Regions from separate parts of the Homo sapiens genome. Here region 1 is linked to region 2. Evidence: promoter capture Hi-C in 16 types of primary human blood cells and fetal thymus (Javierre and others, 2016). All regions are on one chromosome and are shown on one strand. Each heading gives the region's core, a stretch centred on a gene start or on the middle of the fragment in contact. The rest is flanking DNA. Distances are from core to core; before and after follow the strand shown.

Region 1 (4,800 bases), core at 1,984-4,483, 520 kb before region 2:
ATGGATGGCTAAATCAAGCTAATTAAGACAACATGCATTACCTCACATACTTTTTTTTTTGGTATGGTGAAAACACTTAAAATCCACTCTCTTAGCAATTTTCAAGAATACATTGTGACAGGAGAATGAGGGAAAGCTTCGGGAACCATGTCTTTAGGTAAGTGAGGCAACAGAATCAGGTGCACAAATGACCGAACAGGAGCACTGACAGTTACCATCTATTGTTAACAGGCAGAAAGGCAGAATACGTAAGTACAGGTACTGGTAGGTGGGTAGATCTTAAAAATAACTAGGCTATAGTGAACCATGATTATGAAGTTCATCTATAAGTACATCCTTCAAAAATGGTCTTCTGGAGAGCAATCTTTGAACATTCATTATTATTTCAATTTCTCTAAGTGCCAAAAAGCTATTAGAAGGCCTACCAGAGTGGTGGACAGACATCCTGGAATTATCTTAATTGAGATCAACTATTTCAGGTGACTACTCCATGGCACTAGACATCCTATTCAAGACTAAGTGAGGCACCAATTACCAATTCTAGAATAACTGTATTCCTATTAACCCAAAGTCCTCAAAACAGTAGCTACTATGAGGTTTTCCAAATGATTTCAGAAGTGAGGAAATCTAGCATTCTCTGGAACATCTTACAGGTATTGCTGCATGGTTTCAGGAACTTACTTGTAAAAACTACCAAATTCCAAAAAGCAGTCTCAACCTTGGCCCTGGAATTAGTTGTTTAGTCTAGTAGAGTTTTAAGAACATAATGACTAACATTAATTCTCACCAATGGATGATTACATAATCCATTCTCAATTATTTTCCCCATGTAAAAGATTATTCCTAATGTGCTCATAAATCCATATAGAGATGTAAGAATACAGTCAACAAATATTATTTACAATGCTAAAACCCTATAGAAAATAAAGTTACCAAGCACATAGTTCTATCACTTATGTGAGAAAATATTTCACTGCACTGTTCGACCAGTCAATATTAGCAACAAGTGCGCTCTTGAAATTCGGGAAGAACTACTTTTTACCAGCCACAAATTCTGACATTTTATAGTAACGAGTCACAGTTAAATAGTTTTCATTTGGATTCCCTGTCCTTTTCCATTTCTCACTAGAAAATTAAGTCTACATTTTAATACAATGAAGTATTAACTTCATTTGAAGTTGAAAAACTTCTCTTTTTCACAGGTAATAAGCTTATCTCCTAAATTTAACTCACAATCTGCACGTTATGTTACTAAAAACAAAAAAAAGTCCACTAAATATGAAACATCTACTATAAATCTGTGATCCTTGCCATTAAAGGAATCACATACTCCTTTGCAAATCTGATGAAAGTTATGTATATAATTTCAGGGAATTCACTGATACCTTGAAGCCTATTTATGGGTCCCCGAGGTTTAAAGAATCTCTGATTAATGGAAAATAGCATCCAAAATTGATCCAAGAACATATGAAAACTTAGTATGTGATTAAAAGAAGGAATGTTAACATACAGTTGGAAAAAATGATTTACTGAGAAAATCATGATAAATCTCTGTAAACATACAAATGGTTTAAAGAGCCAAATGTAATAAACTATAAAATACTATAATAAAATACAGAAAATGTACACAATCCTGGCTCTGGGTAAGTCTTCCTAAGCAAAATATGAAAACGACTTCCCTAAATTGATAGATTTAACTGTGTGTATTTTAAAACTTCTATATGAGCAAAACACACCATAAAGTCAAGAAACAAATGGCAAACTTGGACAAAAACAAATAAGAGGCCGGGTGCAGTGGCTCATGCCTGTAATCCCAGCATTTTGGAAGGCAGAGGGGGGCAGATCACTTGAGGTCAGGAGTTCAAGACCAGCCTGGCCAACATGGTGAAACCCTGTCTCTACTAAAAATACAAAAATTACCTGGGCGTGGTGGCACGTACCTGCAATCCCCGCTACTTGGGAGGCTGAGGCAGGAGTGAGCCGAAATCGTGCCACTGCACTCCAGCCTGGGTGACAGCAAGGCTCATCTCAAAAAAATAAATAAATAAATAAATAAATAAAAATAAAAAAAATTTAAAAAAGACATAGGATAGATAAAGGATTACTAATTCTAATATTTAAAAAAAAAAGTAAACCACCCAATAGAAAAATAGAAAAAAGTAACAAATAAAAGGGCAATAAACATGTAAAGATGTTCAACCTACCTAGAAATTAGAAGGTAAATTAATTGAATATATCATTTCACAGCTTCACACTGGCAAAAATTAAAAGCTGATTATCTTCTAGTGCTAATGAATGTGTGCTGGCAGTGTAGATTACTACATCTTTTGAAAAACAAAAAAATGTTGAAAAGTAGATTTTTAAATCTGTTAAATTATAAAATATGTATATTCTTTGTCCCAGCAATCTCACATACAGAATTCATCCTAGCACAAAATGACATCAACATGAGTTAAACGGACACATAAGGATGTTTCCTATAATTGTTTATAATACCAAGAAAGAAAAGAAACACTCAAAAAAATTATATATATATGTATATATACACACGCACACACACGACAGATGGGGGACAAACTGAATGTCCGTTACTAGAATAATGGCTTAATAATTTATGATACATGCATACTTTGGAATATTATACAGCTATTATTAATAGAATGAGTAAGTCACATCTATATGTACTGACCTGGAAAGATGTGTATAACATTCAAGGCAAAAAAAGCAAGCCGCATTGTAATATGTGGACTACAATGCCATATTTGTTTTTTAAAAAATAAAAATAAAAAGCTGTATTACTGAATTTTTTTTTTTAGGAATTCCTAATTAGTGAATTTCCCAAGTAGTCAATGAGTACACCTCAGTTTTGAATACATCTATTGCTCTATTAGAAGTCTCACCATCAAAATACTGTACTCTCAAATCAAGGTATATTAAAGCCACTATCAGACAATACTATCCTTTGGAATCTTCTACAATGAAAATGATAATAACTACTTTTAAGGACAAAATGTTTAATAGGTTTTTTATGCCAAAATAAAAATGCTTTTTTAACATTGTGATTTTGCACGTATGGAAAACAGCTAGATTTTTCTTTCCTATAGTAAAAATAAGCTATCTAATTCAGTTGTTTCATTGGGTAACATAATTATGTTCATTACATGAATCTAAACAAGGGGCAGACGTTACATTAAACCAATTCCTTTGTATCAGAAATTCAATTTTCTCTGAATGATATTCATTCTTAGCAATAAATGCAATTAAACACTGATATTACAATTTTAAAACTCTATTCAAATACCTAAATCTCAGCGTAATGTCAATATAAAGTCTTAAGCAGCCGGACATAATTAAAGGAGCACTTGATTTGGAATCATACATACCTGGGTTGCAATCCTGGCTCTGCCACTTAAATGCGATGTGGTCTTGGGCAAGTTATATAACCTCTCTAAGCCTGTTCCTGCATCTGCAAAAATGGCTTTCTGTTGTTCTTTGGTTTTTTTTTTTTTGAGACTGAGTCTCACTCTATTGCCCAGGCTGGAGTGCAGTGGTGTGATCTTGGCTTACTGCAATCTCTGCCTCCCAGGTTCAAGCGGTTCTCATGCCTTAGCCTCCTGAGTAGGTGGGATTACAGGCGCCCGCCACCCCGCCCGACTAATTTTTGTATTTTTAGTAGAGATAGGGTTTCACCATGTTGGCGAGGCTGGTCTCGAACTCCTGACCTCAAATGATCCGCCGGCCTCGGCCTCCCAAAGTGCTGGGATTACAGGCGTGAGCCACCGTGTCTGGTCAAAAATGGCTTTAAATGGTGTTCTTACTTTAAACACGAGTATCTACGATGAAAAGTGCCTAGTACAGAATATGGTTGTCAAAATATGGTTTCCTCTGCTAGGCATGGTAACACCCACCTGTACTCCCAGGTATACCCATCTGTAGTCCCAGGAGGATTTTGATGCATATTTACTACTTTTTATGAAATTTTCTTTCTTGTATCACAAGAAAGCACTTTATATTTTAACTGTGGCATTATACATCTTCAGATAACTTTCTTTTAAAAATCATTCAGATTGTGTCTATGGAAGCAATTTTCAAGTATATGGGGAAAGAAATGTTAGGAAAGGAGGAAAATCAAAAATTTAAGTCATTCTAACCCACTGTAACGTGTCTAAGAAATCAACTCCAGACAATTCCAAATAGTAACAAAACAAAAAATAAGTACAAATTTTAATTTTAATATAACTTTCCACTTCAAGAGGAGTCTTTTTTTCTGTAGAGCTGGATCATTAATAACGCCAGAATATGACCCTGAATGTCGCTAAATGGATCCAAAAGAAAAGAAAAACCAGACTGGATAACCTTCAATATTTAAAGTGGACATTTTTTTCCACCACACAAGATACATATTAATAAAGGAATTCGTAAATAAACTGAGTATCTCTTCAAATTTTACTCTAGAATTGAGGGCTGGAAGTAACTCTAGTTTTCCTCCAACTTTAGTTGCACTTCACTCAGATTTACTTGATGGTTTTTCTTTCAAGGCTCTTTAAAATGTCAAGGCTTTTGCAAAGCCTTGTACCAAAATAGCTACTATACATAATATTACAATTATTTTCTGGTACATTTTTCCTAAAAATTAATCATCCACTCACAGTAACATCTATTTCTTAGTCTAAATTACACTGCTGAGGGTTTTTTGTTTTTGTTTTTGCTGGCTTCTCAAAAGGTATTTAAAATGATTTTGAGGTGAGAGTATGCAAAAAACACTTCACATTACTTTTCCATATTCAAATTACATCCTCT
Region 2 (5,241 bases), core at 1,123-3,622:
ATAATCTATTGTATATTTCAAAATAACTAGAAGAGAACAATTTGAATGTTCATAGCATAAAGATAAATATTTAAGGTGATGGATATCCTGACTATCTTGATTTGATCTTTACACATTACACATTCATATAAATGTATCCAATTATCACATGTACCCTGAAAATATGTACATCTAGTATGTATCAATTTTTAAAGAAGACTTAGGGAATAGTACTGTATGAATGGATTTATCATATGTTACCCAGTCATCTCCTTTCAAAGGTGTTCTGAGAGGGCCAAAGGACCTTCTTTTTACTAAAGCATTGAGAAAATATAGGGAATGCCAGAATCCTTTAAAAGCTCTGTAGCTGCTATTCTATAAGCCTGGGGATAAAGATGCTGCCATTGCATGAAATCCCTAATTCCCTAATGGAAATAGTAAGATCCCAAAGTGATAGAGGCCAAGTGATACCACTGAGCCATCAGAGATGAGATATCTGTTGATACCATGATACCAGCAGGGTGTATCATATTGTTTGACTAAGGGGGATCTTTAGGAGTTGATAATTAATCACTGCCCCTATAATTGAAATGGATAGTCTGCTAAGATTCTACTTAATTTGTACAGCAAAAAATTTACCAGAACTAATGAAGAGACCTGAATGTCATAACCTTAAAGGAGATTTACAGCATCTTGACATTGGCTTTTTGACTCATGGCTATTATAATAGGAAGACAAAGTGGAAGCCTTTGGAACTGCCCTTATCTACTAAAAGATTAAACCAAAGGCAATACCATAGTCCTAGGGGAATTCCAGTGATTAGTGGCACTATTAAAGAGTGCAAAGATGTAAAGGTGGTGATTCTCCATCACACTTTCATTTAACCTTCTGTTTGTCCTCTGCAAACAGGTTATCTAAAATGTTGCTTTTTAATTTTGAAGTATTATTTGTATTCAAGTATCTTTATTCTATTTCATTGCCTGCTATTTTTACATTCTAGTCCCCATTTGTTGCCATGAAGATAGAAATCACAATTTCTACCCAACACTGTAGTGTTGCATCCTGCACACAAACGTACTTTAGTGAGCTCATATGTTTATGTTTATGTATCATCTATGGCTTTTCTTGGTAAGACAATGGCAGAGTTAAATAGTATCACAGAGACCATATGACCTGCAAAACCTATTAATAAAATATTATCTGGCTGTATGAGCACATTTTCATACTGCTATAAAGAATTGCCTGAGACTGGGTAATTTATAAAGGAAAGGGGTTTAATTGACTCACAGTTCAGCGTCGCTGGGGAGGCCTCAGGAAACTTACAATCATGACGGAAGGTGAAGGGGAAGCAGGACACCTTCTTCGTTAAGGAGAAGTGCCCAGTGGAGGGGAAAGAGCCCCTTACAAAACCATCAGATAGCTTGAGAACTCACTAGCATGGGGGTAAACGGCCCCCATGATTCCATTACCTTCATCTGGTCTCTCTCTTGACACGTGGGGATTATGGAACTGCCCCCATGATTCAATTACCTTCACCTGGTTTCTCTCTTGACACGTGGGGATTATGGGGATTACAATTCAAGATGGGATGTGGTCGGGGACTCAGAGCCTAACCATATCACTGGCCCTTTACTAAAAAATTTACTAATTCTGTCTCCCGCTTTAAATTATGAAAGGGACAATTACAGTACTGGTGGAAAAACATTGCTGGAGTGCTTTAGTGAAACCAATTATTTAGGTAGCAGCATGCCACGGTTATGGCTTAGTTGACAGTTACTCTACTTGTGAACTTCATAGGTTGGTGTACGATTCTTAACATGAATATTAAGTAGAGGCATTGAATGAAGATATTTTTCCAATTAAAATCTTGCTTTGCTTCTTCAGGACTTTATAAACCAGACCAGCTGGCTGTGGCACAGATACGAAAGACTTTGAGACCCTGAAGGCACCTTGCAGAACATCCTCAGGCTTCCTCATTTAACAGGAAAAAACCTGAGGCCCAGGGAGGCATCTCAGCTAAAAATACTACTATACATTTAAAAGGAGGTTTCTTCCGGTCGCAGTTGCCTTCACGTTTTCAAATCTTCTCTTTAAAAAGCAAAAGCAGGGCACAACCAGGCCAAGCGCCAGAAAACTCGGAATTGGCTTTATTTCCTTTTTTTCTAGTTGGGCTCGGTTATGATTTTCGGTAACGTACACAAATGCTGTCCTTGTCCATAAACAAACGCTTAAAAAAAAATGTTTACCCGAGAAACAAGGATAGACACGAAGCTGCCCTCCCTGCCCCGTTCCTCACCCTCTCCAATAGCTATAGGCGCTGCCCGCCGTCCCTAACCCGGACCAATCGGCAGCCTGCTGCGGGCCTGACGGGAGGGGTGGGGCCGCCGTTGCCAGAGAAGCCACTAGCCGGTTACTAGCTGCGCTTTTGTTCCACTTGAGCGGGCACTCTTCTGCGGCAAGCAGGTCTAGGAATTCGCCTGGTTCCCACCTCGCGTCCCTTGCCTTCCTTCCTAGTCTACCCACTGTAGTGCCCCCTGCGTCCCGCTCCCTCCTAGCCGACTCAGAGCACAAGAAGGATTGCCACGGTTTCCATTGCAGCAGCCGTGGCGCCTCTGACCCTTTTTTTATATCGCGGCGACGGCGGGCTGTCGTCACGACGACGTGCGGACGCAGCGGCGGGGGCGTAAGTACGCCTTTTGGGTTGGGGGCGACTTTGTGGGGAGCCTAGCTGCTGCTGGGCGTTTACCGCGGGAGCCCTTAGCGGTCTGGAGGTGAGGGCAGTGGTGGGTCCCGGAAGTAAAAGGCCCTCGCGCCCACCCAGCCCCCTCCGCGCAAACCCTCCACCTCCCTCAGGCTGACTACCTGGCCTGGGAAAAGGGCGGCGAGACTCACTCTTAGGAAGGGTGTGGTCCCCGGGACATCAGGGCAAATGTTAGCGTGAGGTGGGCTTGTGCAGAACGAAGTCCTGACCGGGCCGTTCCTGGATATGGTTGCATTTCTTTCAGAAATAGTGACCTCTTAATCATTGGGCTGGTTTTTAATCGCCCATCATGTGATATATCAGATTGTAGGAAGCCCTGGGGGCTTCGTAAGTGAGGTATATTACAGGAATCCTCAGGAAATAATTCCTTCTCCAGGATTCCTCTAGGTTCCAGCCCCTATAGGCGACCCCTGTAGTGCGGGATTGACCTAGGGTCGTGGAGAGTGCTAAAGGCCGACTTGTGTTCAGTCCCAGCTCTGCCACTGAACCCGCTGTGTGGCCTTGTCTAGGTCACTGAACCTTCCTGGATTCCTTACTGATAACTGTAACAGTAATCATCACTTTGGGGTGGTTGTAATACGAGATTAAGTAAACGCAGGGCCATTAAGGTGGCACCGAATGTAGGTGGTTAGTGAGTGGTGGTGCTTGTTGTTTACTGAGAATAACCATACTGGGGCTGCTGTTGGGGATAAAATCTATTTCGAAGACAGTTTCCTCATCACGCAACGCATAGTACGGTTTCAAGTGTTTTTGAATGAATGAGGTTCTTGGAGTTTTAAGTGCAACTGAGTTAAGGTTAAAGAAACAAACCGGGCCGGGCGCGGTGGCTCACGCCTGTAATCCCAGCACTTTGGGAGGCCGAGGCGGGCGGATCACGAGGTTAGGAGATCGAGACCATCCTGGCCAACACGGTGAAACCCCGTCTCTACTAAAACAAATACAAAAAGTTATCCGGGCGTGGTGGCGGGCGCCCGTAGTCCCAGCTACTCGGGAGGCTGAGGCAGGAGAATGGCGTGAACCCAGGAGGCGGAGCTTGCCGTGAGCCGAGATCGCGCCACTGCACTCCAGCCTGGGCGACAGCGCGAGACTCTGTCTCAAAAAAAAAAAAAAAAAAGGAAAAAGAAACAAACTGCAGAAAACCTGTCTGCTTTTGAAATTAGTTTGATATTCTGCTTATAGTAAGAATGTCATGATCATGTTTATGATTTGCTTTTTGCTTCTCTTTTTCATCTTCTTATTTCACAATGGATGTGTATTTATAGTGTAGTTTTTCTATCCCAAAAGTTCCTTGTGACAAACTTTAGAACAATGGAATTTAGTGATCTGGTCGCGGTCTGCTCTCTCTCTTTAGAATTGTAGTCTGTGCTTTTAGCTAGCTCATTCATCACTCATTTCCTTGTCCAGAACAGTTTTCATCTTTTGAATCTAAATTGAACTTATGAGTATTAAAACCTGACTGAATAAAGGCAAGTTTGTGTGTTACTTTTTGCTTTGTAGATTTTTATATTTATGTTTTAGTATCTCATGGCTTTTTTTTTTTTTTGAGATGGAGTCTCGCTCTGCCGCAGTGGAGTGCAGTGGCGCGATCTCGGCTCACTGCAACGTCCGCCTCCCGGGTTCAAGTGATTCTCCTGCCTCAGCCTCTCGAGTAGCTGGGACTACAGGTGCCCACCACCACGCCTAGCTAATTTTTGTATTTTTAGTAGAGATGCGGTTTCACCATCTCATGGCTTTTAATTCAAAACTGAGTTCCACCAATTCCTTACTTGTAATCTTGGACAAGCTATTTAACCCTTCTAAGATTTAATTTACTTATTTATAGCTTTTTAATAACAACCTTGTGAAGCTTTTGTGAGATGATGTTTATAAGGTCAGTCAGTGCTCTGCTCAGTAAATGGCAACAGCTGTCGTGTTGAAGGAAAGGAATATGCTTTATGTTTGTCTGGTACAGGATGGTGACTTTATTTGGGATTAGACAATATTCTGAACATCTTTGGCCAGGTCTTTTTCCGGGTAATTGGGCTCTATATGGACACTCAAAAGTGTCCGAGTTTAAACAGTAAATAATTTAGTCACCCTAACTTATATTTGAGAACCTAATCTATGCTCCCCACTGTGTTAGGTAATTTTTTAGGGCAGAGAGTGATGCGTATTATTTGTCCTCACAGTTAATAGCAAGTTTAAAAGAGAACTAAAATATGAGCATTTATGGAGCAGTTAAATTCTAAACTATATGATTCTGAAAATACTTTTGTTTAGAGTTCTTGATGGGCTGGAGAAATCAGGGCAACACTTTGAGAAGGAAATGGAATGTTGGCTTTGAAGTACATGCCGTGTTTACAGAACAGTCACTCTTGCTGTCAACTCTTCTTCCTATATTATCCAGTCTGCAGCCCATCTTTTAAATATACATCCTTCTTTTTTCATTGGAGAGAGGGATTACTAATTTGTTATCTAATCTAATCTCTCTGTATCAGAAAACGTTTTTTCCATTTTGGTAG

Evidence for each region. The method cuts DNA at HindIII sites, captures the fragments that hold promoters and counts their contacts. A CHiCAGO score of 5 or more calls a contact.
Region 1: a fragment that was not itself captured here is called in contact with the fragment with the promoter of ODF2L in region 2 in 4 of 17 cell types (non-activated CD4 T cells, fetal thymus, total CD8 T cells and 1 more); the score reaches 7.5 in non-activated CD4 T cells.

Annotation. Positions count from the first base shown.
Region 1 is chr1:86,916,228-86,921,027 of GRCh38, reverse strand. All of the region lies in intron 1 of HS2ST1 (heparan sulfate 2-O-sulfotransferase 1), which reads right to left. Among named protein-coding and RNA genes, the nearest start is that of HS2ST1, 4.0 kb to the right of the region's middle. The HindIII fragment of the contact is 4,042 bases long and covers 1,213-4,800 here.
Region 2 is chr1:86,393,454-86,398,694 of GRCh38, reverse strand. It overlaps ODF2L (outer dense fiber of sperm tails 2 like), which reads left to right and starts at 2,372. Exons shown (of 17, transcript NM_001366781.1): 1 at 2,372-2,662. RefSeq lists an enhancer at 2,398-2,447. The HindIII fragment of the contact is 6,956 bases long and covers 1-4,588 here.